6 separate regions of the Homo sapiens genome follow, and regions 1, 2, 3, 5 and 6 are each linked to region 4. Evidence: promoter capture Hi-C in 16 types of primary human blood cells and fetal thymus (Javierre and others, 2016). All regions are on one chromosome and are shown on one strand. Each heading gives the region's core, a stretch centred on a gene start or on the middle of the fragment in contact. The rest is flanking DNA. Distances are from core to core; before and after follow the strand shown.

What was found. The method cuts DNA at HindIII sites, captures the fragments that hold promoters and counts their contacts. A CHiCAGO score of 5 or more calls a contact.
Region 1: a contact is called between a fragment that was not itself captured here and the fragment with the promoter of LY96 in region 4, in 13 of 17 cell types (activated CD4 T cells, monocytes, M2 macrophages and 10 more). The highest score is 17.5, in activated CD4 T cells.
Region 2: a fragment that was not itself captured here is called in contact with the fragment with the promoter of LY96 in region 4 in 6 of 17 cell types (endothelial precursors, activated CD4 T cells, M0 macrophages and 3 more); the score reaches 6.3 in endothelial precursors.
Region 3: a fragment that was not itself captured here is called in contact with the fragment with the promoter of LY96 in region 4 in 1 of 17 cell types (activated CD4 T cells); the score reaches 5.9 in activated CD4 T cells.
Region 5: a fragment that was not itself captured here is called in contact with the fragment with the promoter of LY96 in region 4 in 7 of 17 cell types (activated CD4 T cells, non-activated CD4 T cells, endothelial precursors and 4 more); the score reaches 9.2 in activated CD4 T cells.
Region 6: a contact is called between a fragment that was not itself captured here and the fragment with the promoter of LY96 in region 4, in 2 of 17 cell types (fetal thymus and M1 macrophages). The highest score is 6.2, in fetal thymus.

What each region holds. Positions count from the first base shown.
Region 1 is chr8:73,669,807-73,674,630 of GRCh38, forward strand. STAU2 (staufen double-stranded RNA binding protein 2) reads right to left here. Exons shown (of 15, transcript NM_001164380.2): 6 at 3,301-3,436. Among named protein-coding and RNA genes, the nearest start is that of STAU2, 75 kb to the right of the region's middle. RefSeq lists a silencer at 1,331-1,520. The HindIII fragment of the contact is 4,982 bases long and covers 1-3,772 here.
Region 2 is chr8:73,686,266-73,691,126 of GRCh38, forward strand. It overlaps STAU2 (staufen double-stranded RNA binding protein 2), which reads right to left. Exons shown (of 15, transcript NM_001164380.2): 5 at 2,389-2,548. Among named protein-coding and RNA genes, the nearest start is that of STAU2, 58 kb to the right of the region's middle. The HindIII fragment of the contact is 296 bases long and covers 2,456-2,751 here.
Region 3 is chr8:73,651,386-73,655,668 of GRCh38, forward strand. All of the region lies in intron 6 of STAU2 (staufen double-stranded RNA binding protein 2), which reads right to left. It also overlaps the pseudogene VENTXP6. Among named protein-coding and RNA genes, the nearest start is that of STAU2, 93 kb to the right of the region's middle. The HindIII fragment of the contact is 9,482 bases long and covers 1-4,283 here.
Region 4 is chr8:73,989,928-73,994,813 of GRCh38, forward strand. LY96 (lymphocyte antigen 96) reads left to right here and starts at 1,465. Exons shown (of 5, transcript NM_015364.5): 1 at 1,465-1,627. The coding sequence starts at 1,516. RefSeq lists enhancers at 1,707-1,806, 2,177-2,246. The HindIII fragment of the contact is 3,298 bases long and covers 1-1,495 here.
Region 5 is chr8:73,710,952-73,715,320 of GRCh38, forward strand. All of the region lies in intron 3 of STAU2 (staufen double-stranded RNA binding protein 2), which reads right to left. Among named protein-coding and RNA genes, the nearest start is that of STAU2, 34 kb to the right of the region's middle. The HindIII fragment of the contact is 1,753 bases long and covers 895-2,647 here.
Region 6 is chr8:74,328,303-74,332,944 of GRCh38, forward strand. No RefSeq gene overlaps it. Among named protein-coding and RNA genes, the nearest start is that of JPH1, 9.1 kb to the left of the region's middle. The HindIII fragment of the contact is 160 bases long and covers 3,173-3,332 here.

The DNA.
Region 1 (4,824 bases), core at 32-2,531, 320 kb before region 4:
CTGACTTTTCATTGCTTTAGCACCAGACTTTTTAAAAGTAATAAATTTAGAAGTAATAAAAGTAGTTTATTTCCATTTAAAAGTAATAAATTCACTAGTCAGAACTGTAGCAAAATTTCAATAAAGGACCACAGATACCAAAATAAAACAAATATAAAGATGTAATACTCTCATAAATCTATTTACTAGAGTACATTAGCAATAAAATTAGTATATAATAGGCTAGGTGTTCCTTACTCAGGTGACTAAAGATATCTACTGTGTTGAAGTGGGCAACTAGCTTTATTTATTTACATTGGGGAACGTCAGATTAAACATAAAGGCAATGCGTATATTATACAGAGAAAGAGAAAATAAAACAACTACAAGAGAAATGTGTTGTCCCTTGTGCCTCCTATGCGGTGTGGACACCAAGCTGAGGGCTGGGAAGCCTGCCATTGTATGCATCACAATTAGAAGCAGAGATGTTACAGGAGAGAATGAAATATACCAAGGAAGCCAAGAAAAGCTGAGGGTTTAGGCCCATTAGCAAGGGGAAGATAGTAGATACACTCTGGAAGCATTACCTAAGGGAGAAAAAGACGGACTAGATGCCACCAACTGCAAGTTTCCACACCTCGTGGACAAGGCACACGACCACAAAGAAAAGAGGAACTAAAGGACAACACAAGATGCCTCTACAGAGGTGAGGTATATAGATGCCTCTCCCTTCCTAGCATAGAGAAAGCTCCCCCAGGCATACCTGAGAGGAAAAGGGAAGGGCAGAAGTCTAATACAGTGTGCAAATTCTTCTTAGAGAACCTAAACAATAATATTTAAAGGAACTATTTACAATTGAATAGAACTAAGTTTTAAATGGATACAATTAAAGATAATTTTTCCCCTAGCAAGCAAGAAACCAAAAAGTATCAGATTATTTATGGACTAAATAAATATCTTCCCTACACATCTAAGTTATGGTATCAGTAAATACATAAAACCATAACAAAAGCACCAGCAAATATCTGATCAAATATAGGAAAGAATTTCTCAGGCATAAAAGAAGTGAGAGAAATAAAGAAAAATCAATAGATAAGACCACATAAAATTTTAAAACTACAGGATATTAAAAACAAATACACAATTAAAAGCCAAATTTTTTAAAGCAGGAAAATTACAACAAACAAAATAGACTGAAGGTTAACATCCTCAACACATAAACATTTGAAAACTGGTGAAGCAATGGAATAAAAATCAGCAAATTAAAATAGACAAATCAAAAAGGATAACAAATATCTAAAAAAAAAACTGTTCAGCCTCACTAGTAATCAATAAAATTGAATTTTAAAAACTACTACTTGATGGCCACGTGAGGTGGCTCATGTCTGCAATCCTAACACTTTGAGAGGCTGAGAGAGGCGGATAACTTGAGGTCAGGAGTTTGAGATCAGCCTTGCTAACATGGTAAAACCCTGTTTCTACTAAAAATACAAAAATTAGCCGGAAATCGCTTGAACCCAGGAGGCGGAGGGTGCAGTGAGCTGAGACCACACCATGGCACTCCAACCTGGGTGACAGAGTGAGACTTCATCTAAAAAACAAACAAACAAACAAAAAAAAACAAAAAAAACACTACTTTTTAACTACCAAAGAAGACAAAAACCTTTTTAACTCAGTGTTCTCAGAATAGAATAAGCATTCTCATATACTGTAAGAAATTAGTACAAACTTTAGTGCAATTGGGCAATGCTTTATTCTTTTTAAAGAATATTCCCCTTATAGTAATATAAGGAAGGAAATAATCAGTGATGTGAACAAAGATTTACATAGTGATTATTTACTGCAGCAATCTTAACAAAAAAGAGGGCATAAACAACCTAGATAAAAAAATAGACATACATTTATATACCTTATGAAGCCATATGAAGCATTATGTAGCCATCAAAATCATTTTGTGCCAGGCACAGGGGCTAACGCCTGTAATCCCAGCACTTTGGGAGGCCGAGGCGGACAGATCACTTAAGGTCAGAAGTTCAAGACCCCCAGCCTGGCCAACATAGTGAAACCCCATCTCTACTAAAATACAAAAATTAGCCAGGCATGGTGGCAGGTGCCTGTAATCCCAGCTACTCAGGAGGCTGACACACAAGAATCACTTGAACCCGGGAGGCTGTGGGTGCAGTGAGACAAGATCACACCACTGTACTCCAGCCTGGGTGACAGAGTGAGACTGCGTCTCAAAAAAAAAGAAAGAAAAGAAAAAAAAATTCTTAAATATATGACAAATGGCCACTATATTAAGTGAAAAGAGAGTGCTTGTTTTGCATATACAAGATACACAAATTATGATATATCCATACAAAGTACACTAACCAGCAATAAAAAAGGGCAAAACCCAGATATAAGCAACATGGATGAATCCCCAAACAAGAAAATCATTATACAAAGTAAAAGAAGCCAGATGCACATAAATACTGTATGAGTCTAGATATAAAAAGTTCAACAACAGGCAAAAACTAGTCTATGATAATAAAATAGTGATTATTTCTGGGAGAAGGATGTGTCAAAGACAAAGAGGTCTGAGGAAACTCTCAGAGGTGATTGGGAACATTCTGTATCTCGATCTGAGTGGTGATCACGTGAGGCTATACGTATGTAAAAAGTCATCAAATAAAGTATAAATACATATATACATACATAAAATAAAGTCATCAAGAGGTATACTTAAGATTTGTACATTTTACTGTATGTCTATCATACCTTCATAAAGTACTACAAAAACTGCATATAAAGGACAACTTCAACTTGGTTAAATATATTTAAATGCAAAGAAAAAAAGAATGTAAAGTACATGAAAATATAAAAGGTGGCAAATTCTGGGATTACATTATTTACATTTTTTCTTTTTTCCCTATAAATTACAAACATTCATGTTCACTAATGTATTTAGACAAATCAAGAAAAAAACTGAGCTCTGCTTGGTAAATGAATGAGAAAGTCAACACTATAAACTGTGAAATGACTTTAAGACTTGGTCTTCCCTGCAACAAATACAGGGCCCTCATGACACAATAAAAACTAGTTCCTTCAGATCTTTTACGTTTGTGGGGTAGGGGAAAAAAAAAAAAAACTAGTTCCTGAAAACTGGGTTTCTTTAAGTTATTAATTTAAATATTCCTTGTGAACCTGCTTTATCTAAATTCCATGCACAATGCCCAAGGTCAATTAGATTTACAATGAAAATACTCTTTTGAGTGTGAGAAACTTTTATAACATGGATAAAATAATAATTAAGAACAAAACCAAAAAAGACATACAAACCTCTGATTGTACATGCCCCGAAAGTTGTAATTAGCTCTATAATTTGGGAATGGCTTTGGATCTAATGGCCTGTAGATGGCAGGCTCTCCCCTTTTCATAGCAAGCCCATTCAGTTCCACAGTTGGAGTTATACTGCCTGTTTAAAAAAAAAACATTAAAGGCACACAAGTGAAATATCTTCACAATTAAACATGCAAGCTATATTTATACAACGCTTAAATACCATGGAAGAAGGTAAGAATGGATGGACCACCTGTATGATTTTCTAAGGAACTGCGAAAACAAAGTAAAAAACCAAGAAAATAGTTCCTAATAAAATCTTGGGATTTTGCAATGTTTTCTGTACATTAATGACAAAAAATCTGAGTGTGCAATCATTACTATCAAAACATAGTAAACAGATGATTCTTAGATTGCTAACCGTGAATATTATTTTTTAAAGTACTGCATTTCATCATTACTTACCCCAGAAAGCTTGCATGTATTTAATCATTAAAAACATCATCTGTGAATATTTTTATTTATACTTTGGTAATTAAATAACTAAGCATTGGCAAGAAAGTCATCAGTGGTTCTTGGACTTATCTAATGAAAAAAGTTTTTTGAATTTTTTCTATAACCAACAAAACAGAGTAAATATAAGCAATGTTTCCTGAAACTAAAATGTCATCGAATATATTCCTAGCAAATATTAAAGATACGTACAAGTAGCATTATCGATAAAAACAAAAGACTGAAAACAACCTAAACAACCATCAATGCAGCATCAGTTATATAAATGTCCATAGCATAAAACACTGAACAGCTATAAAAGGAGGAAGACTACTACACACCTTGCTTCTTTTATTTTACTTAATATACCTCGGAGGTTATACCTTAGCAGTGTAGGGTATAATGTTAAACGAAAAAAAGCAAGGTACCAAATAGTGTGTGCTTTATATTATCTTTTGTCTAAGAAAGGTGAAAATGAAAATATAAATATATATTTGCTTACTTTTTTTAAAGAATAAACCCAAAACTAAAAAAAAAAAAAAAAAACTTACTTAGGAATGGAAGCTGTATGTCTCTGAATGTACACTGTTTCATAGATTTTATTTTGAAAACATGAATTTTTTGCATAATTACAGAAATCAAAATTTCATCCAAAAGGGGTGGGGGAGCAATCTCTAAAATCGAAAGAAAACTGGAACTAAATCTATCTACAGTGACTTAACCACAAAGAGAATTATTTCAAAAGACTTAAAAAACTGTAAAATAGCCATGAGATCCTAAAGAGAAAAAAAAATCTTAAATTGTTTTCAGTAATCACATTGTTAGTAACAAGTAATATGCTTTTACTTAAGTCAAACAAAATTAAATAAAAATGGAGACAAAGTAATCTCTATAAAGAAAACAAAGCAATTAAAACCTAATTGATTGGTGGCCCTAATCATACGAAGAACAGTTATTTCAAATAACTTTAAAATATAGTCAAATAACCACATATTCTAAAGATTTTTTTAAACCCTGCAAATAAATCATAAA
Region 2 (4,861 bases), core at 1,354-3,853, 300 kb before region 4:
TTAGGCCAGGCACAGTGGCTCACACCTGTAATCCCAGCACTTTGGGAGGCCGGGGTGGGCAGATCATGAGGTCAGGAGATCGAGACCATCCTGGCTAACACAGTGAAACCCCGTCTCTACTAAAAATACAAAAAATTAGTCAGGCGTGGTGGCACATGCCTGTAGTCCCAGCTACTTGGGAGGCTGAGGGAGAAGAATTGCTTGAACCCGGGAGGCAGAGGTTACAGTGAGCCGAGATTGCACCACTGCACTCCAGCCTGGTGACAGAGCGAGACTCCCCCTCAAAAAAAAAAAAAAACAATGGATTTTGGGGATCTGGGAGAAGGTTGGGAGGGGAATGAGGGGTAAAGACTACACATTGGGTACAGCATACACTGCATGGGTGATGGGTGCAACAAAATCTCAGAAATCATCACGGAAGAATTTATCAATGTAACCGAATACCACCTGTTCCCCAAAAACTATTGAAATAAAAAAAAAAAGATAATGACATATAATGTTGTTCGTATTGTATGCAATTAGAACAACTCTTTAAAATTATTCTTAGGAGCTTAAAATTAGAACAGTAATTTACTTAGCAGTATTTTACATGCAGGTGGTTTGCGGAATTTGTGATGGGGTTTCTTTCTTTTTTTTTTTTCTTTTGAGACAGAGTCTTGCTCTGTCGCCCAGGCTGGAGTGTAGTGGCGTGATCTCGGCTCACTGAAACCTCCGCCTGCCAGGTTCAAGCAATTCTCCTGCCTCAACCTCCTAAGTAGTGGGGACTACAGGCACGCGCCACCATGCCCAGCCAATTTTTGTATTTTTAGTAGAGACGGGGTTTCACCATGCTGGCCAGGCTATATATAAATATATAGTTTTATATATTATATAAATTTATATAAATTATATTTATATAATTATGTATAATTATATAATATATACAATATATTATAAATTTTTTAATTTAAATATAAACTTAAATATAAATTAATTTAAATATAAATTAATTTATATTTCTATTAATTTACATTTATAAAAATTTATATTTATATTTATAAATATAATTTATATTTATATTTATAAATATAATTTATATTTATAATTTATATAATATAAATATAATTTATAATTTATATTTATAAAAATAATATATTTATATTTAAATTAATTTAAATATAAATATATATTTATAATATATAAATATATAATATATAAAATAAAATATATATAATTATATAATATATAAAATATAGTTTTTTATATATATAACTATATATTTAAACTATATATTTAAAAAGAGAAATTAATCATTTTTTGTAATTTTTTTTTTGCAGGGGTAGAAACAAGGTCTTGCTATATTGCCCAGGCTGCTCTCAAATTCTTGGGTTCAAGCAATCCTCTTACCCAGGCCTCCCAAAGTGCTAGGATTACAGGTGGGAGCCACTGCACCAAGCCACTATCATTTTTGTTTGTTTGTTTTTTGAGACAGAGTCTCGCTCTGTCGCCCAGGCTGGAGTGCAGTGGCACGATCTTGGCTCACTGCAACCTCTGCCTCCCGGGTTCACGCCATTCTCCTGCCTCGGCCTCCTGAGTAGCTGGGACTACAGGCACCCGCCACCATGTCCAGCTAATTTTTTTGTATTTTTTTAGTAGAGACAGGGTTTCACTGTGTTAGCCAGGATGGTCTCAATCTCCTGACCTCGTGATCCACCTGCCTCGGCCTCCCAAAGTGCTGGGATGACAGGCGTGAGCCACCGCGCCCGGCCTACTATCTTTACTTTAAAAAAAAAAAACTCAGTCAAATTTTCTGTGCTTTGTATTCAAATATGTTTTTGCCAACATTAAAAAAGTAAACAATGCACTTTTATAGTATCCACTAAAGCAAATTTTAAAAACAATTACAATTACTTTCTTCATCCTCTCACCTTCATTTTTTTTTTTTTTTTGAGATGGAGTTTCGCTCTTGTTGCCCAGGCTGGAGTGCAATGGCGCGATCTTGGCTCACTGCAACCTCCATCTCCCAGATTCAAGCAATTCTCCCGCCTCAGCCTCCTGGGTAGCTGGGATTATAGGCACCTGGCTAATTTTTTATATTTTTAGTAGAGACAGGGTTTCACCATGTTGGCCAGGATGGTCTCGAACTAATTACCTAACATGATCCACCCGCCTCGGCCTCCCAAAGTGCTGGGATTACAGGCGTGAGCCAACGCACCAAGCCTCCTTCAGTTATTTTTATGCTACCGTGTGTGTGTGTGTGTGTGTGTGTGTGTGTGTGTGTGTGTGTAGGTATGGGCATATGTGTACTATTAATACTTGCTCACTCTGTTACTAGCCTACTATAAATGAAACATACAACAAGCAGAACACACATAGCAGACAACATAACAGAAGGAGTCACTGCCATACCTGGGTTATTGTTAACATTACTTTTGGGTGGCTTCTGAACTGGTTTGGGAAGCGTAGATTCAGTCAAAGCTTTATTGGCAACAGCCTGCTGAGCCTTCTTTATACTGCTGCCTTCGGATTCCCATGTCTGCTCACCAAGACTCAGCTGCACTGAGAACATCTTAGAAAAACATAAATAGACAAAGAAAACATTAAGACTTTTCCAAGAAATAAAATTGGCTGTCTGAGAGAAAAATAAACATCATAGAATCAGAATTTTAGAGCTAGAGGTGACCTTACCTACAGATCATCTGCAACAAAATCTTACTCTACCTAGTGAAGAAATTTTAAGAGAGTACCAAATTCTGTTCTATCCTATCCAAAAGCTTAGTAGCAGATCTAGGTGTACATTCTGGGTAGAATAAATCAAGAAGCAATCTTTCCTCTAAATGGAATCACAATGTTAATGTCATTCAAATGGTCCTCACAAAAGCAGAATAAGTAGAAATAATAAGAGAAACTGTAAGAGAAGCCAAAAGACCATGTGTCTATAATACTTTCATAAAATCTAATTCCTTGAATGTTACATTTAGCACAATCTAGGCAATGAGTCAGGCAATTCTATTAAATATTATACTACCAAAAAACTCTGAATCTCCACAACAAACATTGAGCCAATCACTAAATTCTGTCCATTTTAACATCATAAATATTTCTCAAATCTTCTTCCTCTCTCTGCCAACTGGATCCAGCCTTTCATCATCTTTAGCTTGGACATAATATTCTTCCAGCTGATCACTGCTAAAACTATCTTTCTAAAACACAAATCCAACTTCATCACCCCAATCAACATCAGGTTAAAACCCTTCAACTGTTCCTGTTTTAGCATGGCACAAAGGCTCTACCTGTGCATCCTCATCTCACACACATCCTTCCACTAACATGCTCTGAATTCCATTCTCACTGTATTTCCATATGAGCCCCCAAACCTATTCTTCACCTTTAAAATTCAGAATCAAGTTACATGATATGCGCATAATTGGTTTCACTCCAGACTGCATATTACTTTCTAGGAATACTAAGTATTAACTTAAAATTACTTATTACAAAAAAATATATATTATTGTAGAAAGGAGATCAGATAGAAAATACCTTCACTAAGTTAGCATCACCAATAATCATACAAATTGACGTCATGTGCCCCCTGATACAATCCAGTGAGAAGTATATATCAACAACCATGTACAATTCTTGGCCAAAAATGTTTAATCTGAATCTAATCACAGGGAAACAACCAGAGAGATCTAGATTATGGGACATTCTATAAAACAAATGGCCTAGGCTCCAAAAATGTCAATGTCATAAAAGGAAAAAAAAAACAAAGAATGCAGGGAGGACACTAAAGAGACATGAAGGCCGTGCACAGTGGCTCACGCCTGTAATCCCAGCACTTTGGGAGGCTGAGATGGGCGGATCACAAGGTCAGGAGATTGAGACCATCCTGGCTAACACAGTGAATCCCCATCCCTACTAAAAATACAAAAAATTTAGCCAGACGTGGTGGCGGGTGCCTGTAGTCCCAGCTACTCGGGAGGCTGAGGCAGGAGAATGGCATGAACCCAGGAAGCGGAGCTTGCAGTGAGCCGAGATTGCGCCACTGCACTCCAGCCTGGGTGACAGAGCGAGACTCTGTCTCAAAAAAAAAAAAAAAAAAGGAAAAGAAAAGAGACATGAAAAGACATGATAAATACCATGCATGATCCTTCATTATATCTAAAATGGGAAGGGGAAAAAAGCTGTAAAGGACATTCAGAGGACAACTGGGGAAATGTGACTATGAACTATACATTAAGTAATAGGTTTAGCCAGGATTAAATTTCTTGTGTGATTAACAGTATTGTGATTATGAAGAACGTCTTTAGTCTTACAAGATAGATATGTAAGTATTTAAGAGTGAAGTGTCATGGTAGCTGAAATTTACTTTCAAATTGTTCAAGGAAAAATTATATGTCAATATAGAGGGAGCAAGAAATAAAGTAATGTGGCAAATAAATTAACGATCGGTGAATCTAAACCATACATGAGTGTCTATTACACCACTCTTTCCATTTTTTCTGTAGATTTTTAATTAATCAAAATAGAGAATTGGGATTTGTCATTTGAAATTCACAACATAAACATACCTGTTTAAAGTGATTAAATTTTCTTTTATTCTAATTCAGTTTAAAATATATACCTAAAATGTATCTTTAATACTCTCTCTGGTTTCAGAATGATTTTTCAATGACTAGCTCTTTTTCTTCAAATTTTGGTATTTAACAAAGAACTTTGCCACAAAGTAAGAAAGTTCAAAGGTTTCACATGATATATATAATATACATAATCTTGCATATAGCTCATATGCTTGAAAACAGAAATACCCACATAAATGACCTTGAGATTCCTGATTGCATCAGGAAAGCATATTAAATTTACTCTGCATGTCTCCAGACCT
Region 3 (4,283 bases), core at 1,757-4,256, 340 kb before region 4:
AGGGAAATGCAGCTGTCGGAGGTCCAGATAAAAACCTGGTTTCAAAATCGCCGCATGAAACACGAACGGCAAATGCAGGACTCCCAGCTGAACAGCCTCTTCTCGGAGTCACTGCACGCACCCCTGGCTTTCCACTCACCGTCTTCTGGCCTTGCCAATGGCCTGCACCTGCTGTGCCCTTGGGCACCCCTGCCTGGGCCCCAGACTCTGATGCTGTCCCCTGGCTCCTTCTGGGGTCTCTGCAAGTGGAACAAGAGGCCCTGGCCTCTGAGTGGGCCTGCTGCTGTGGGCAGCCTCTGGCGTACCACCCCCCAAAGCCCAGGAAGTGGCATGCATACGCTGGGACCAGCCCTGTCCACGGGGCCCTGGGGCCTGGTGTGCTCTGCCGGAGACGGGATGCATTTTGAGGAAATGCCTCTGACTCCAGGCCTCCCATACAGGTCTGTGCAGATTGCACCTGGCACCTACCCAGAGAACTCAGCTGTTCTGTTTACATTGTGGAGGCACCTCTCACCCTGACCCACGCAAAGGTTCTGGAGATTTCTGGAGAATATATTTATTAAAGCCACCTCTTCACCAAAAGTTACCAAAAGGGTTGGTTTAGGAAGTAAATGAAGGGTCAGTGTAGAGTCAAACGCAGAAGTGGGCTTGTTATAGGGAGGGCTTTCAGCATATGATAAAAGGGTAATTTGTTTTTTAAAAAGTGTTGGAAAAACTGGTTTTCCAGTTGGAAAAAGTAAAGGTTGTAGGCTTTGTGTGTAAAAAAGAAAACCATGAAGGATTGGAAGGGGGAAAAAAAAGAAATTATATAAATAAAATTATCAAACTCAGGCAGATAATTTCATAGAAGTATGCATTACTTACTAGCAAATCTTCTCATTTTGGAAAATGTTTCACTTTTTAATTTTTTTAGACACACAAATAAGAAGAAAAACTTCCACATTCAAAAGAAAGACTAAACCATGCACAAATGAACCCTTTCTGTTTCCTTTAACATACAAGAAAGTGATTTCATGAAATTTATTAAAACTGTTATTTCTGGCCAGGCGCGGTGGCTCACGCCTGTAATCCCAGCACTTTGGGAGGCCAAGGCACACAGATCACGAGATCAGGAGTTCCAAGACCAGCCTGGCCAACATAGTGAAACCCCATCTCTACTAAAAATACAAAAAAAAAAATTAGCCAGGCGTGCTGGCGGGCATGCTGGCAGGCGCCTGCAATCCCAGCTACTCGGGAGGCTGCGGCAGGAGAATCACTTGAACCTGGGAGGTGGAAGTTGCAGTGAGCAGAGATCGCGCCATTGCACTCCAGCCTAGGTGACAGAGCAAGACTCTGTCCCAAAAAAAAAAAAAAACTGTTATTTCTGTCCAATTCCAAGCAACCAAAGTACTTCATGTCATTAAATATGTATGTGTAACACACATACACATACATATATACATATAGATATTCACCAAACCATTATTCAACTATCTGGCCACTTCATTCTACTCAAAATGCAGATCCTTAGCAAAATTTATGACAGAAAAAAATAAATTCTGAAGTAAAAAAATTCACCAACTAGATAAAACTCGATGTTTTCCACAGTTAAGGGGACATCTTAGGGCGTAATTAAAGCCCTGCTACTCTTACTTTGCCCCAAATTCAAACAATAATATCGGTTTTCAAGATAATAGCAATTGAAAAGCATCAAAGAAAGGAGCAAGCAATATGCAAAGGTGCACTGACAAAAACAAGAAATAAGATGACAATCTGACTGACAACAATGATTTGGAAAGTAACTAAAAGCACACTTGGGTACTCTAGAAACAGATGTCTAGGATTATCTGGTATAAGGACAAACCATGTACATATCTCATGAGGCTTGTAATACTTATTGTTTATAAGGTTGATAATGAGTCAACAGCAAGGATTCTTCATGCTAAGAATTGTGGCATTTTCTATTTAAGGATATAAAAAATATATGCCATAACTTTTAGAAATATTTCTATCCAAAATTACTGAACTAAGTAAAGTTTTAGGTTCCAAAAAAAAGTGAACCCTCAGCAATGTGGGGAAGCTAGCTGTCCAGAACAATTATCCTTAAGGAGTGTGGTTAACTGTAATTCTTCCCTTCTTCTTTACTTCTTTCAAAAGTTCTATGACTATTCAAACCATCTCATAATCTTTGATGTTAATAGAGGGTAATGTGTTTTGGGTTGTGGGGACCAGTATTTAAATGACTGGACATAGAATTACTTGGGGAAGTTTTAAAAAACAGTGCGGTTCAAGCTCTGCAACCAGAAATTCTGATTTAATTAGTCCACATAAAGTCTGGGCATCAGAATTTTTAAAGCTGCCCAGGAAAGCCTGATGTTCAGTCAGTGTTAGGAACCACTTAGGTAAACAGTTTTCTTCATGACACCTTTAGGAGTCTTCAAGAGAGATACAGTATGCAGCATTTCCAAAATTTGTCTTCAAATCCCTTTTACCATGGAACATCTTATAACACTGACTTAGGTAACTCTTCATCTGAAAATCAAGGTAAATATTAAGTTTAGAATCAAGTTGTATAGCTTTTCAAACTTTGTAAAAGTTCTAATGTGGTTAGGAAGAGGGAAGGGGAGGGAAAAAATAAAAGGATGACTTACTTTTATCTTGCTACCACATTTTTTATATTACAAAAATTCCAAATGAAATATTTTAATTTTAACTTAAAATTTCATAGTTTATTTTAATCATGCTTATATTAAGCCTGTGACTCAAAAGCATTTACATGTTGTGAAAGCTAATTTCAAAGATAAAACCGTGCTGCCCTCTAATGGTTCAAGATAAATATTTTTACCTATACATAGTAGTAAGGTGATAAATACAATTTTATTATTTTATAAATGGGAGGATTACATTATATACCAGAAAAGAAAAATAAGATTTCAATTTTTGGTATAACTGAGCCCAAAAACTTAACTATGACTGCTATGTTCAAGCTCAAGACCCTTTTAACTGTCCAGGCACACTGGCTGACCCCTGTAATCCCAACACTTTGGGAGGCCAAGGCGGGAGGATTGTTTGAGCCCAGGAGTTTGAGACCAGCCTGAGCAACATAGTGAGACCCCATCTCTACAAAAAATAAAAAATTAGCCAGACATCATGGTGTCCCAACTACTAGAGAGACTGAGGTGGAAGGATCACTTGAGACCAGAAGGTCATGGCTGCACTGAGCCGTGATCATGCCACTGTACTCCAGCCTAGATGACAGAACAAGATTGTCTCAAAAAAAAAAAAAAAAAAAAAAAAGAACTCTTTTAATTATCAAACCTTTTTTTTTTTTTTTTTTTTTGAGACGGAGTTTCGCTCTGTCGCCCAGGCTGGAGTGCAGTGGCACGATCTCGACTCACTGCAAGCTCCGCCTCCCGGGTTCACGCCATTCTCCTGCCTCAGCCTCCTGTGTAGCTGGGACTACAGGCGCGCGCCACCATGCCCGGCTAATTTTTGTATTTTTAGTAGAGACGGGGTTTCACCGTGTTAGCCAGGATGGTCTCGATCTCCTGACCTCGTGATCTGCCCGTCTCGGCCTCCCAAAGTGATGGGATTACAGGCGTGAGCCACCGCGCCCGGCCCAAACCATTTCTTAAACCACCACATTTGCCTATGCATGTGTAAATCAGGATAAAAATGTACACCTCTTCTGCATTCTGCAATAGCCATCTCTAACTTAGCTTCTTTTTCAAATAAATCTATGGCAGTAGTGTTCAAACTTGAATGCTTGTACCCTACAAAAACATTTTAGAAAGTTACACATATTCTTGCATATTTCTTCTTACAGCTAAAGTTTTAATTCACATTTTTAAAATTTCATTAAGTACTTGCAAAGGATGTAGTTTCTAATTTACTGTAAATATTTACATTTTAAAATAAAATTATGTCACTCTTTTAAGTGTATCCAAAAACTGAACTATCATAGCAAGCTGACATCCACCTTTATCTACTCAAAAAATACATAAATTCTGTTAAATACAACAGAAATTTTACACCAGCTGTATCTTGTTTAACTTGCATTTTACTGCACTCTCTCCATTTCATCCTAATTTCATATTTTATAACTAAAAGTCTTTTATTCCTCATTCTACCATAATTCTATGCAACAAAAATAGATATATTAATTAAAATTATAGGAGTTTGTACTTCCATGTAAGTTAGAAAATATTTTGTGCAATGAGCCATTATTGAAATTATTAGCAGATAATGAAACAAATATTATAATTTTAATACATCTTTTTTTTTTTTTTTTTTTTTTTTTTGGA
Region 4 (4,886 bases), core at 215-2,714:
TATTTTTAGTAGAGACAGGGTTTCACTATGTCGGTCAAGCTGGTTTCAAACTCCTGACCTCAGGTGATCCGCCCACCTTGACCTCCCAAAGTGCTGGGATTTACAGAGGTGAGCCACTGCGCCTGGCCTGTTTGTTTGTTTTTGAGACCGAGTCTCACTCTGTTGCCCAGGCTGGAGTGTAGTGGCCCAATCTTGGCTCACTGCAACCTCTGCCTCCTGGGTTCAAGCGATTCTCCTGCCTCAGCCTCCCGAGTAGCTGGGATTACAGGTGTGTGCCACCATGCCTGGCTAATTTTTATATTTTTAGTAGAGACGGAATTTCACCATGTTGGCCAGGCTGGTCTTGAACTCCTGACCTCAAGTGATCCACCCACCTTGGTATCCCAAAATGCTGGGATGACAGGCATGAGCCACCGTGCCCAGCTGAGAATTTGTTTTATAAAGCAGGAGGCCCCATCCTCTGGGGGCCGTGGACCAGTACCAGTCCATGGCCTGTTAGGAATCTGGTTGTGGCTTGTTAGGAAGTGGGCTGCACAGCTGGAGGTTAACAGCAGGTGAGCGAGCATTACCACCTGAGCTCCAGCTCCTGTCAGACCAGCAGCAGCATTAGATTCCCATGGGAGCAGGAACCTTGTTATGAAGTATACAAGCGAGGGATCTAGGTTGCGTGCTCCCTATAAGAATCTAATGCCTGATGTTCTGAGGTGGAACAGTTTCACCCTGAAACCATCCCTCCCCATCCCCTCAGTCCGTGGAAAAATTGTCTTCCATGAAACTGATCCCTGAGGCCAAAAATGTTGGGGACTGCTGTTATACAGAGCTGTAGGAGAGAAGAATAATGCAGAGGGAAAAGGAGTGCCTGTCTGTTGAGACTTTCAGGGGGACCTAGGGACTGGTTTTGTTACAGTTGACTGGGAATTGTCTTGTTTATTTTATTTTATTTTTCATTTAAAAAATTTTTTTGAAATGGAGTCTTGCTCTGTTGCCCAGGCTGGAGAGCAGTGGTGCCATCTTGGCTCACTGCAACCTCTGCCTCCCAGATAAAGTGAAGCTCCTGCCTCAGCCTCCTGAATAGCTGGGATTACAGGCATGCACTACCACACCTGGCTAATTTTTGTATTTTTAGTAGAGATGTGTTTCATCATGTCAGCCAGGCTGGTCTTGAACTCCTGACCTCAAGTGATCCACCTGCCTCAGCCTCCCAAAATACTGAGATTACAGGCATGAGCCACCGTGCCTGGCCAAAGTGTCTTGTTTTATTTTTAAGTCTTTGATCACTCTCATTTACAGTAAGTGTTTGAAGAGTACATTCTAAATCATTTTTCTCTCTTCCTTTACAGGAAGTGCTCAAATGTTGAGCACACACACACAAAAAAAGAGGAAACAGTTGGATAGGAACTCAGAAATCATGTGACTGATGACTAAGTTAAATCTTTTCTGCTTACTGAAAAGGAAGAGTCTGATGATTAGTTACTGATCCTCTTTGCATTTGTAAAGCTTTGGAGATATTGAATCATGTTACCATTTCTGTTTTTTTCCACCCTGTTTTCTTCCATATTTACTGAAGCTCAGAAGCAGTATTGGGTCTGCAACTCATCCGATGCAAGTATTTCATACACCTACTGTGGTAAGTAAAACCGCAAAACAAATAATTGTAGCATCAACTATTTTGAGGGTAAGTTTTCACGAGAACCGTACACTGTTGTGGCTGGAACACACGAAACATCAGTGTGTTCCAGCTGCTGTGGCGGACGCTGCCAGCAGGAAAAGCAATAGCTGGCAGCTGCCCCATGAGAATGTTCTCGACCACTCACAGAGCTTGTGAGTCTCTAAACTGTGTTGTGCTTGACCTCCAAGTGCTTCTGTTCCCTGCGTCATCTTTCTCTACCCTGAGCCCAGTTTTTGGTTCTGCCCATTTTTAATAAAACCATCTGCTTCTGAGCTTTCACCTCAGCCTTGACACTTACTAGTTCTTCTTCTTGAGATGGTAGAGCAGTCCCAGCTGCTTCCTGGAGTTGATTTCTGCTCTAAGCTGTGACTCTTGAGTGCTCTTGGAATCATCCCCCTCACTGGATGAAAGCCTGGTTCTGTCACTAGCTGTGTGACCTTAAGCAAAGTACTCCAGCCTTTTTAGCACTGAAGTGAAAGTGATTTTATAGTCTACTTGATAAGGGTGTTGTGAGGTGAAGTTTTTTAGCATAGGGTCACATAGAGACAATAATACTCTTAATTTTTTTTTGGAGTCAGCCATACCCTAATACTATTCACTGGCTGTGTCACTGTCCCCTGCCCCAGCTGCTCATTAGCAAGTGTCCTGGGATCTGAAGGCACAGTGTCAGGCCTGACAGCTGTTTTGGTTCGGTACTTTCCACCGTGCTGCTTACCATGGGTTGGCTGCCCTTTTCCACCCACTAGCAATAGCTGGGAGGTTTAAAGTGGTGCTTCCCAAAATACCAGTTCTTTGAGATTCTTTTGGGAAAATAGGATCTATGACCTAATCATCTGGGAGAGATTTACAGATGTACTTTGGGTTCTGAGAAGTTCTGCAATAAAGGCACCTGTTTAACCACATTTTCAATTTCATTTGTTGTTTGTTTGTTTGTGTTTTAGTCTGGAGTGTATGTTAACTCTCTTGAGAAACATGCTCTGCCAAATGCTAATATAAAGTGACTTTCGGGAAATTGGGATAATTGCCACATGTGAGGAGGAGACTTAGGAGTGTGGCCAGTCACACACCATGGCCCTTCTCCTGGTGGGTTGCACTGAATTCCCTCCAAACGTATGTCTAAAATCTCTCCATGCTGCAAGATCCTTTTGCATTCCCCTCTTCCAGCAAGGCTCCTACTCTACTTGGCCCCCACTTCCCTCTCCTCCTTTGGCTCTTTTGTACCATGTGCTAATTATGCCACTGTGTGTGTGTGTGTGTGTGTGTGTGTGTGTGTGTGTGTGACAGAGTTTTGCTCTGTTGCCAGGCTGGAGTGCAGTGGCGCGATTTCGGCTCACTGCAACCTCTGCCTCCCAAGTTCAAACGATTCCCATGCCTCAGCCTCCTGAGTAGCTGGGACTACAGGTGTGCGCCACCACACCCGGCTAATTTTTTTTTTTTTTGTATTTTAGTAGAGACAGGGTTTCATCATGTTGACCAGGATGGTCTCAATGTCCTGATCTTGTGATCTGCCCACCCCGGCCTCCCAAAGTGCTGGGATTACAGGCGTGTGCCACCTTGCCCGGTTTATGCCACTCTTTATATGGTTTTTATGGATGTAACATTTTGTATTATTATTTAGCTTTCAATCTTTTCTTAACAATAACTCAATTTGTCTTTTTAAAACATTTCACATTTTATCTTATTTTATCATTTATTTTTGAGACAGGGTTTTGCTCTGTTGTGCAGGCTGGAGTGAGTGGCATGATCTCCACTCACTGCAACCTCCACCTCCCTGGCTCAAGCCATCCTCCCAGCTCAGCCTTCCAAGTAGCTGGGACTACAGGCACATGCCACCACACTTGTCTAATTATTAATTAAATAATTTTTTTTGAGTTTCACTCTTGTTGCCCAGGCTGGAGTGCAATGGCATGATCTTGGCTCACTGCAACGACCGCCTCCTGGGTTCAAGTGATTCTCCTGCCTCAGCCTCCCGAGTAGCTGGGATTATAGGTGCCCACCACCACACCCAGCTAATTTTTGTATTTTTAGTAGAGACAGGGTTTTGCCATGTTGACCAGGCTGGCCTCCAACTCCTGACCTCAGGTGATCCGCCCACCTTGGCCTCCCAAAGTGTTGGGATTACAGGCGTGAGCCACCGCAGCTGGCCTAATTATTAATTTTTTTGTAGAGATGGAGTCTTGCTATATTGCCCAGGCTGGTCTGGAACTCCTGGGCTCAAGTGATTCTCCCACCTTGGCCTCCCAAAGTGCTGGGATTACAGATATGAGCCACTGCACCTGGCCTAAAATTTCACATTTTAATCATTTTTGAGTGTTTAGCTCAATTGTATTAAGTATATGCACATTGCTGTGAAACCATCACCGTTGGTGTATCTTTTGATTTGACTTTCTAGTTTTTTTTTTTACTTTGAGACAGTCTCATTCTGTCATCTAGGCTGGAGTGCAGTAGTACGATCTCAGCTCACTGCAACCTCTGCCTCCTGGGTTCAAGCGATTCTTTTGCCTCAGCCTCCTAAATAGCTGAGATTACAGATATGCACCACCATGCCTGGCTAATTTGATTTGACTTTATGAAGGAGGATCTTCCTTCCTTCTCTCTGAGAAACCCTGTGGTCCTTTCCTGCTGCCCCACTGACAAAGGGACTGTGGGCAAGCCACTGGAATACACATCTACAGCAAGATGTTGCTTGTTGCCATCCCCACTGCCATATGACTGCCTTCCCGGCCTGAGAGAATCCATCCTGCCCAGCCAAAAATGCATCACCTGTGGGAAGCACTGATTCCTCTAGGTACCATTGTGAGGGTGTTGGTGACAACAACCTCTGATTCACTGTGATGATTTCCATGAAAAAGAAGAGATAGATTTCCATTTGGTCAAGCTGCTGGGCATCTAAGTGTATGTTTTTTTAAACACAGAGTCTTGCTCTGTCAGCCAGGCTGGAGTGCAACGGTGGAATCATGGCTCACTGCAGCCTCAAACTCTGAGGTTCAAGTGATTTTCCCGCTTCAGCCTCCCAAGTAGCTGGGACTACAGGCGTGCACCACCATGTCTGGCTAATTTTTAAGTTTTTTGTAGTGATGGGGTTTTGCCATGTTGTCCATGCTGGTTTTGAACTCCTGGTCTCAAGCAATCTTCCTGCCTCAGCTTCCCAAAGTGCTGGGATTACAGGCCTGAGCCACTGATTCCGGGCTACAGTGTCTTAATTAGTTCAGGTGCC
Region 5 (4,369 bases), core at 521-3,020, 280 kb before region 4:
CAGGCCCAATAATTTGTACAATGGCTTGATTGTGATAATTATGATTAAGAAACTATTTTATAAGAAAACTACGTAAGCACCTGGTAAGACCTAAGTAAAAAGAAGGAATCTAAGCAACCAATTGTAGGGCCAAGACAGCTGACAGTAGATTCTACAATTAAGCCATTGTAAGTGGCTTGCAAAAAAAAAAAAAAAAAAAAAAAAAACTAGTAATTATTACTTTTGGGAAAAGTACAAAAAAGACAAAAGTCAAGACAGTTTTGAGAAAACCTGCATTTTACCTATTCCATTGCATGTCACACAAATTTTATAAAACATCCTGTTCAATTTGGAAAGTCAGTCGTTATAAGAAAATACAAGGTAACCTGAGACGATAATCAGTTTTGGCCTTTGCATACCATTGCATGAATTCAAGTGCAACAGACAGCACAGCCAATTTAATATCAAAAAGCAAAAGCAGAATAATTGGTTAAAATGAGAAAATATTAAAGTCTGATAAAAATCAGCCAATTTTGCATAACACAAATAGCATTTATACCACCACTGTGTAATTTTCATAATTCAGTAATGCTGCATATTCATCTGTTACAATGCAAAACATATTAGAAGCATACAAACATAGTGTGAAAATTTTATACTATGAAAATTGCTAATAGCATAGGTTCTACACATATTAAACAGCGATTTAAATGGTTCATTTATAATGAACCCGTTTGGTATGAAAACCTAATCTAAATCCTCTAAAGGAAAATGTTAACAAATAACATGGTATAAAACTTATATTCCATTAATTCTGACTTCCTGCTTCATAAAAGTTAACATGAATCCAATAACACATTTTAATGGGTGACTGAAGTTTTAGTGTGAGAAGGGTCCAAGATCCCACTTTGATAAAGCTTCAAAATTAAAATCAAAATGTTTAAAGTTGATAACTTAGGAAATAATTAGTCATAGTTGTTTTATTTTAAAAAGGGATTAAAACAAATAGTTGTTCCTTTATTTAATGAGAAATCTTAATAGGATTCTTACTTGACAGAGAGCTCAGTAATACAGCAATAACTTTTAAATTACACCAAAATTTAGATAGAGCATCTATAAAAACAAACTGGTCTATAAAATCTGAGACACATAAAAAAGTTATATAAATCTTTTTTAGAGAAGTCAATAGTGCAAAAAAGTGAGAAATGCACATAATGTTACACAGGTATGCATTTTCAAAGACCTATAGATGTTATCACTGAAGATAGTTTGAAATAGTCTTCAAGTCCATTTGGTGGCTGGAATAGTAGAGACCTACTTAGAAGTAAATAAAATTAATAAAAATGGATTCACAATCTCAGACTCTGCCACTTTGAAAGAACAACTGCCACATGATGGTTAAGAGCCTGTTTTGGATATCTCTGTCACTTACTAATATCTGTGTGACCTTGAGAAAGTACTTAAATCTCACTTTCCCACAAAGTAAAATAGAGATAATAGTTGTTCTTATCTCACTAGATAATTGCATGGATTGAATGAGATAATACCAAACACTGTTAACAATGATTAAAAATTCATTATTATTCTGATTTAAACATTTGTTAAAACAATTACACTATCATCAAATATTAAAACAGTGACATAAAAAGTCATGAAAAAAGTTTATAAAACTAAGTAAAAATATTCTTAGCCAAAATATTCTGTTACGATAAATTGATTTTACTCATACAAATATACTTCTTGGCTGGGCATAGTGGCTCACATCTGTAATCCCAGTACATTGGGAGGCAGAGGCGGGAGGATCGCTTAAGGCCAGGGGTTTGAGAACAGCCTGGACAACATAGCGAGACCTCATCTCTACAAAAAAATAAAAATATTAGCCATATGTCATGGCACATGCCTGTACTCCTTGACACTCAGAAGGCTGAGATAGAAGGATTGCTTGAGCCCAGGAGTTCCAGACTGCAATCCAGCCTGGGTGACAGAGTGAGATCCTCTCTCAAAACAAAACAAAACAAAAAACAAGTATATTTCTGTAGTAGTCTGTGAAAAGCATGTATTTGTTATTATTTTTTCCACTGACTTATAAACCCATAAGTTCGTTTCCACTGAAAAATTCTCAAATATGATATAAATTATATTAAAGGTTTACATGTGCTAGGAAATATTCTACCTTCACTGATACGAAACTTGGTTAGATATAACTTACAACTTTGATAAGAAACACTGGTAAAATACATATTTATAATAACAGTATTTGCATATCCAACAAAAACATAAATATACTCTATTTTTAGATTCACTCTATTTTTATGTCTTCACAAAATGTCCTGGACTCTGGAATTTGAATCTTCATTTTGCCTGTTCATTTGTATGTGTAGGAACCAGTGAAGAAACACAGCAACTGTGTTCAAGTCACTGAACAAGCTACAAAATAATGTAGCTCACAGGCAAAATGATCTGTCCCCAAAGGAGTTCACAGTCTGATAGAAGAAACAGACACAGACAATAGACAAACACAATAAATCACAATATAAGTACTATAATAAGGCTGTTACAAAAACTCCTTAGACAAAGGGTGTATGGAAAGGCAAGTTTTAAGAGGTGGTGATTAGATAAGGAAAGCAAAAATTCACTTAGGTAACAAGGGAACGTGAGAGACAGTCCAAGCTTTTCAAGGAGTATAGACACAGGAGAAAGCACATAAAACAACATAACTTTCTGGCAAATGCAAGCAGAAAACTGGCAGAATACAGAACGCATGAGAAAAAACAGCAGAATAAAACTATGTGACCAGAATTCACTAGAACACCAAAAGTTTCCTAAACCAGAACTTAAAGTAGCATTTTTTAAAGTAGCTATATTCCAGCCAGAACTGTTGCTACTAAGGTCACAGACTACCTCGCTTCGCAAGGCAAATCATTCCAAAGAATCCTTTCCATCCTTGGTCCCAGAAATGACTTAAACACGGTTTCTTTCCTTTTTTTTTTGAGACAGAGTTTCACTCTTGTTGCCCAGGCTGTAGTGCAAGGGCGCGATCTCGGCTCACTGCAACCTCCACCTCCTGGATTCAGGTGATTCTCCTGCCTCAGCCTCCCGAGTAGCTGGAATTACAGGCATGCACCACCACGCCCAGCTAATTTTGTTTTTTTAGTAGAGACGGGGTTTCTCCATATTGGTCACGCTGGTCTCGAACTCCCGACCTCAGGTGATCCGCCCACCTCAGCCTCCCGAAGTGGTGGGATTACAGGCGTGAGCCACCACGCCCGGCCTTAAACACAGTTTCTATGTCTCTTTACTGGTTCCCCTTTCTCTATTCTCTGCTATTGGAGGGAACTCATCCTAATTCCCAAGTAAAATAAGAAAGAAAAAAGTCAAAAGAGCAAAGGACCCTTTCATGGGCTCTTGCCTTCTAGGAGCAATCTGACAGATATGTCCCCAGCTATTAACTAAAACAAACCCTCTATTTTCAAATTAGACCCTAACATAAGGCTGTCCAAGCAAAATTATCGACAAACTACCCAGGCATCAAACTGCTCCATTTTTAACAGTCTGTCCATTAGGAAAAAATTTAAGTTCCTCTCTCACATAAACACAAAGATAAATTTCAGAAATATTAAAATGCAAAATACAAAAATTTCACAAAAACTAACGGAAATTAGCTAAATATCTGTCATACTCCTGTAACACAGAAGGCCTTCCTAGATATGAAAAGGAACCTAGAAGCCATAAAGGCAAAAACTGATAGTTAACAACATAAAAATAATAAAACTTCTCTAAAGCAAAACATACCACATATGACACTAAAGTCTAAGCCATTTTGAGTTACTTTTTGTATACAGAAGAAATACTTGCAATATGTGAAGAAAGGCCAGGCGTGGTGGCTCACGTCTGGAATCCCAGCACTTTGGGAGGTCAAGGCGGGCAGATCACCTGAGGTCAGGAGTTCCAGACCAGCCTGGCCAACATGGTGAAACCCCGTCTCTACAAAAATATACAAATTAGCCAGGCATGATGGCGGGTGCCTGTAATCCCAGCTACTCAGGAGGCTGAGGCGAGAGAATCACTTGAACCCGGGAGGTGGTGGTTGCAAGTGGAACCAAGATCGCACCACTGCACTCCACCCTAAGCAACAGAGCGAGACTCCGTCTCAAAAAAAAAAAAAAAAGTGAAGACAAACTGTTAACATTCATAAAATAAAAAGATACTATAAATCAATTTTTTTAAAGCCAATAGGAAAAAAGGGCAAAGTTACACACAATTCACATAATTTCTTGAGTAAATATACCTGTTCAAAAGAATGTTAAAGAGCCTGGCCAACATGGTGAAAGCCTGGCCAACATGGTGAAACCCTGTCTCTATTAAAAATACAAAAATCAGCCAGGCATGG
Region 6 (4,642 bases), core at 2,003-4,502, 340 kb after region 4:
TGTGGCAAGCACTTTTTAAAGCTTACAGAGACATCAGAACACCCAAAGAGTGGCTGTGGAGGCTCACTGCTCAGATCTGCCTTCAAGAGAACCTACAGTTTGGAGGGTACTTGGCAAAGAGACTCCAGCTGCCACAACTTCACATCTCCTGTGGGTTTTGCATCAAGGCCACTGCCCCTGACAACCCCTCCAAGTTAAGGGTAAATTGATGCATCTTGCATCCTCTGCTACAAAAAGGAAGCAGAACACCTGGTAGGCCTACTCTTTGGTTCTGGAAGCAACACATACACACTTAGACACTACTTCAGCTTATGTGCTAGGTGACACAGAAGGGAGGCCACCAGCTTTGAGAGGGCTCAGACCAGGAAGGGGTTTTTCTAGAGGCTCAGGTTGTGATGCAAGCAGCCCTGCCTCTTGGGCCATATGATCAGGCAGATCCTATGGTGTTGGAGGTATCAGTGGTGAGAAAAGATATATGAAGATTATGGCAAGCCCCTGTGGAAGAATCACAGTTGCAAGTCTATGGGGATCTAAAGCAAGGATCTATATCATCTGCAACAGGCAATCTTACATCTTTTGAGAAACAGTTTACTTGAAAGTTACTTGGCCTTGGTAGTAAAGGAGTGCTTGACCATGGGAAAAAGTGCCTGTTCATTCAGAATTTCCCATTATGAGCTTGAGTCCTCTTGACTCAAGTCTTGACAGACCCAGAAGCAATCTATTGTGAGTTGGGACTGGGATCCCCAGGAGCAAGCTGAGGGGGACCAGAGGGCATGAAAAGCTGCAAGAACAGGTTGCCTTTTCTTGAGGGCTGTGTGGGACAGACCCTCATGTCCCCCACCTGGGTTCCACTGGTTCACTTCTCTGAGCAGATTGGGGTTTCAGATAACTAGCTGAAGGGGGAGGAAAAACCTTTATCTGGTTTACGGTTGGATGAGCTCAGTATGTGGATGTAGCTGAAAATGAATGGAGGCTGCATTACATCTACACTCAGGAGTGGTCTTGAACATCTGTAGACCGGGAAAATCTTTCCAGTGGGCAGAACTGTGAATGTTGAACCAGTCATGTATTTTGTGTGGAAGGGAAAGTGGCCCCAGGTGGGAATATTTATATAGATTTCTGAGCAGTGGCTAACAGCGTTGCCTGGTCAGAGGCTGGACAGAGAAGGATTGGAAGACTGAAAACATGGAGGTCTAGGCTAGAGACATGTGGATGAACATATGGGAATGGACACAAAGTGGAAGAGGCACTGAAAACCCAAGTAGATGACAGGACTCAGCCAGTTAATGTCAGCCTTCCTCAACAGACATCCCAGATCTGGAGCAAGGGGCACATGAGCTTAGTTGCCTCAGTGGCAGAGATGGAGGTTGTACCTGGGCCCAAGAGCAGGGACTGCTGCTTATTGAGGTTGGTTTAACTACTCCTAACTTTGTAAGTCAGATCTGTTAGTAACAGAGAGTATTCCTTGCAAATATCAATCACCTACTTGGTGGTAAGTTGAGTATATTAGACTCATTTCAGCCTAGAAGAGCCAGTGGTTCATCCTTACTAAGGATAGACGTTCTGGGTATGGATTTACCTTTCCTCCCCACAGAGCCTCAGCCTGTACCAGCACTGTCCAGTGGCTTATAGAATACCTGATTCACAAGCGTGGGATTTCACACATAAACTCCAACCAGGGGACCCACTTCACCGTGAAGGAGGTGCCAGAACGAGCCCTGATTGTGGGGTCCGCTTCGTCTTAGACACTGTATTACTGCTTACCTCTGTAATATTTCAGGGGCTAACCTCATAGAATAATGGAATGGTCTCCTAAAGGTACAGCTATAATTCTAGTTTGCTGGTAATAATCTGCAAAGATGGAGTGGCATTTTTTGGGGTGTGATATATGCACAGAATCGGATTTCTCTATGACACTATCTCTAATAGGGAGGACATAGAAGCCTAGGAACTAAGAGGTAGAAGCAATAGTACCTCACTTATTATCACATCCAGTGTCTTTCCTATCGGTGCATCTCTGGACTTTGCAGGGTTCCCAGAGGGGAAGCACTCTTGCCAGGGGACAAAGCAGAGCTGCAAACTATGGCTCCTGCCTGGCAGATCCAGGGATTGTGCCCAGGGATCAGCAGGTAAGAAGAGGAATCACCATATTGGCAGGAATGATTGACTTTGATGAGCAGAAGGAGGCTTTTATATAACGGGGACAGAAAAGAATATGTGCAGACCCAGGTGATCCACTTAGGTGCTTCCTGGGACTCTATGGATCCCTTGTATCCATGGATGCAGTCATGTGGCAACCCTGGTCTGAGAAAGGTATGACTTACAAGGGGTTCAGACCTTCCAGAAATGAAGGATTAGGTTATACCACTAGGTAAGCCACTAGAACCTACTTATGTGATAGCTGATGGTGAGGAGAATGAAGTAAAGAAAAGGGAGAAGATGAGAACCATTTTTAGCCACAAGGCTAACTTCAGAAACAGGGACTGCTATTTGTCCCATTAACTTCCCTTATCAGAGCTTCCCTTCAGGAAGAAAGGCCCCCAGGAACTGCCCCCAGATACATGTGAAGACAATCTCTGCAGTGCAAGGGGAGATTGTGGTGGTCATAGATGTGCACCACTCAGATCTTCCTTCAGGAGAACTTGCTGTGAGAGAAGAGGTTGGTGAACATCCTGTAGCTGCTGCACCTTTGAATTCCAATAGCATTCATGCTGAGGCCACACTGTCTAAGCTGTTTCTAGCCAATAACCAAGCACAGTGGGATTCCAGGAACTGGGTCATTCCTTCTCAACACAGACCTCCTCTGATGGGTGAGATTTCCTGTGCTCCCCACTGACCTGGCTAAAACCTTTTAAGGGCTACACTGCAGTCTGAGCCTTTTCTACACAATTCTTCCTTCCCTGCTTTCCTTTCATGGGTTTCCCGCCTACTCCTGCTTCCTGTGGTCTTTATCCTGCATGTGTGTCTGATTCTATCCTGGAATCTGCTTCTTGGAGACCTTGAACTGTTACACACGGTGGTCTTTAAAGAACACACAGCTAACACACACATGCACACATACACACTTACATTTACAGGTGGTTCTTGGTCAGAGAGAGATGGAAAGTCTAAATCACAACTTACTAAACTGAGTTTAAAATCAGATTTCCTGGTTCTTAAAAAAGAATGGGGAAGCTTTCTATGTACTGATATGGAAAATCCCCAAGATCTATTAGATAGAAAAGAAAGCAAGATATTGAACAATGTATGTAGTATGCTATAGTTTGCTGTATTTGTACATATGTAAAAACCTGTAAAGATACAAATAAAAATCAAGGGGGTGAGAGTAGGAAAGCTTTGCTGAAGAGCAATTTGAAACTTGAAATTATAGTACTTATTAATAATTAAATTGAAATGTCAGTCTTCAGCATCTTAGCATTTTATTATTTTAGTTATTTGAAAATTCCATTCTGTATATGTAACTGAATAGAACCGCCGTTAGGCAGATGATGCAATAGCCTGTGTAAAGCAATAAATGGACTTGATAAATTTTAGGACCCTCCAAAACTTACCATCTGAAATGGGAAAAGACTGCCTGGGTAATACAGATGGTATGAGTGATTTCCGACTCACCAACTGATTGAATAATTCATAGACTGTCTCCCTGTCTGTGACAGAAGTGGACATTTAGAAACCTCCAGCTGTGTCAGCCCTGCCATATTGGTTGTTCTGAAAGTTTTGCTATTTCTAGAAAGAAGTATGCACCATCATTTCCTTCGATGTAACAGCCTATGCTAAATCATGCCTTGTTTCCACACCTCAGATCCATACTAAATGTTCCTTTAGGACTGATAACTTCATCAAAGCAAAGGTGAGAATCCTTTGGTGAGCATTTTCAAAAGATGCTTGTGTAGGTTCTGCTCTCCTCTAGCAAAATGACAGAGTGGCCCCATCTTATATATTCTGAGAGCTTTCCTAACAATCCTAATGTACTTATCTGATGGAGAATCATTATCATAGGGCGATTTCCAAAACTCCCCTGCTGACAGTCACCGAGGGGAACTTATTAAATACAGATGCTCTTTGACATACTATGGGATTGTGTCCTGATAAACCCATCATAAATTGAAAATATTGTAAGGCAAAAGTGTACTTAATACACCTAACCTACTGAATATCATAACTGAGCCTTGCCTGCTTAAAAGGTCTCAGAACACTTACATTAGCTTACAGTTGGACAAAATCATCTAACACAAAGCCTATTTTATAATAAAGTATTGAATATCTCATGTAATTTATTGAATACTGTATTGAAAGTGAAAACCAGAATGACTGTGTTGGTACTTGAAGTATGGTTTCTATTGAATGCATATTGCTTTCACACCATCATAAAGTCAAAAAAATCCTGAGTAGGGGACTGTCTGTATACACATGCCCAGGTCACCAATGCCAAGCCCACGGAATCAGATGAATTCTGATTCCGTGGGCTTGGCATTGAGGTTCAGGAATCTGTGTTTTCAGGAAATACACTGAGTGCTCTTCAGGGAAACATTGTTATAGGGTAATCCTCTCCTGTGGACTACCTTAGATTCTTTAAGCTAGTCAAATAAGTTCAAAGTTGTCTAACACTAGTGATCCCAACATGACTTTATTTTTTTTCACA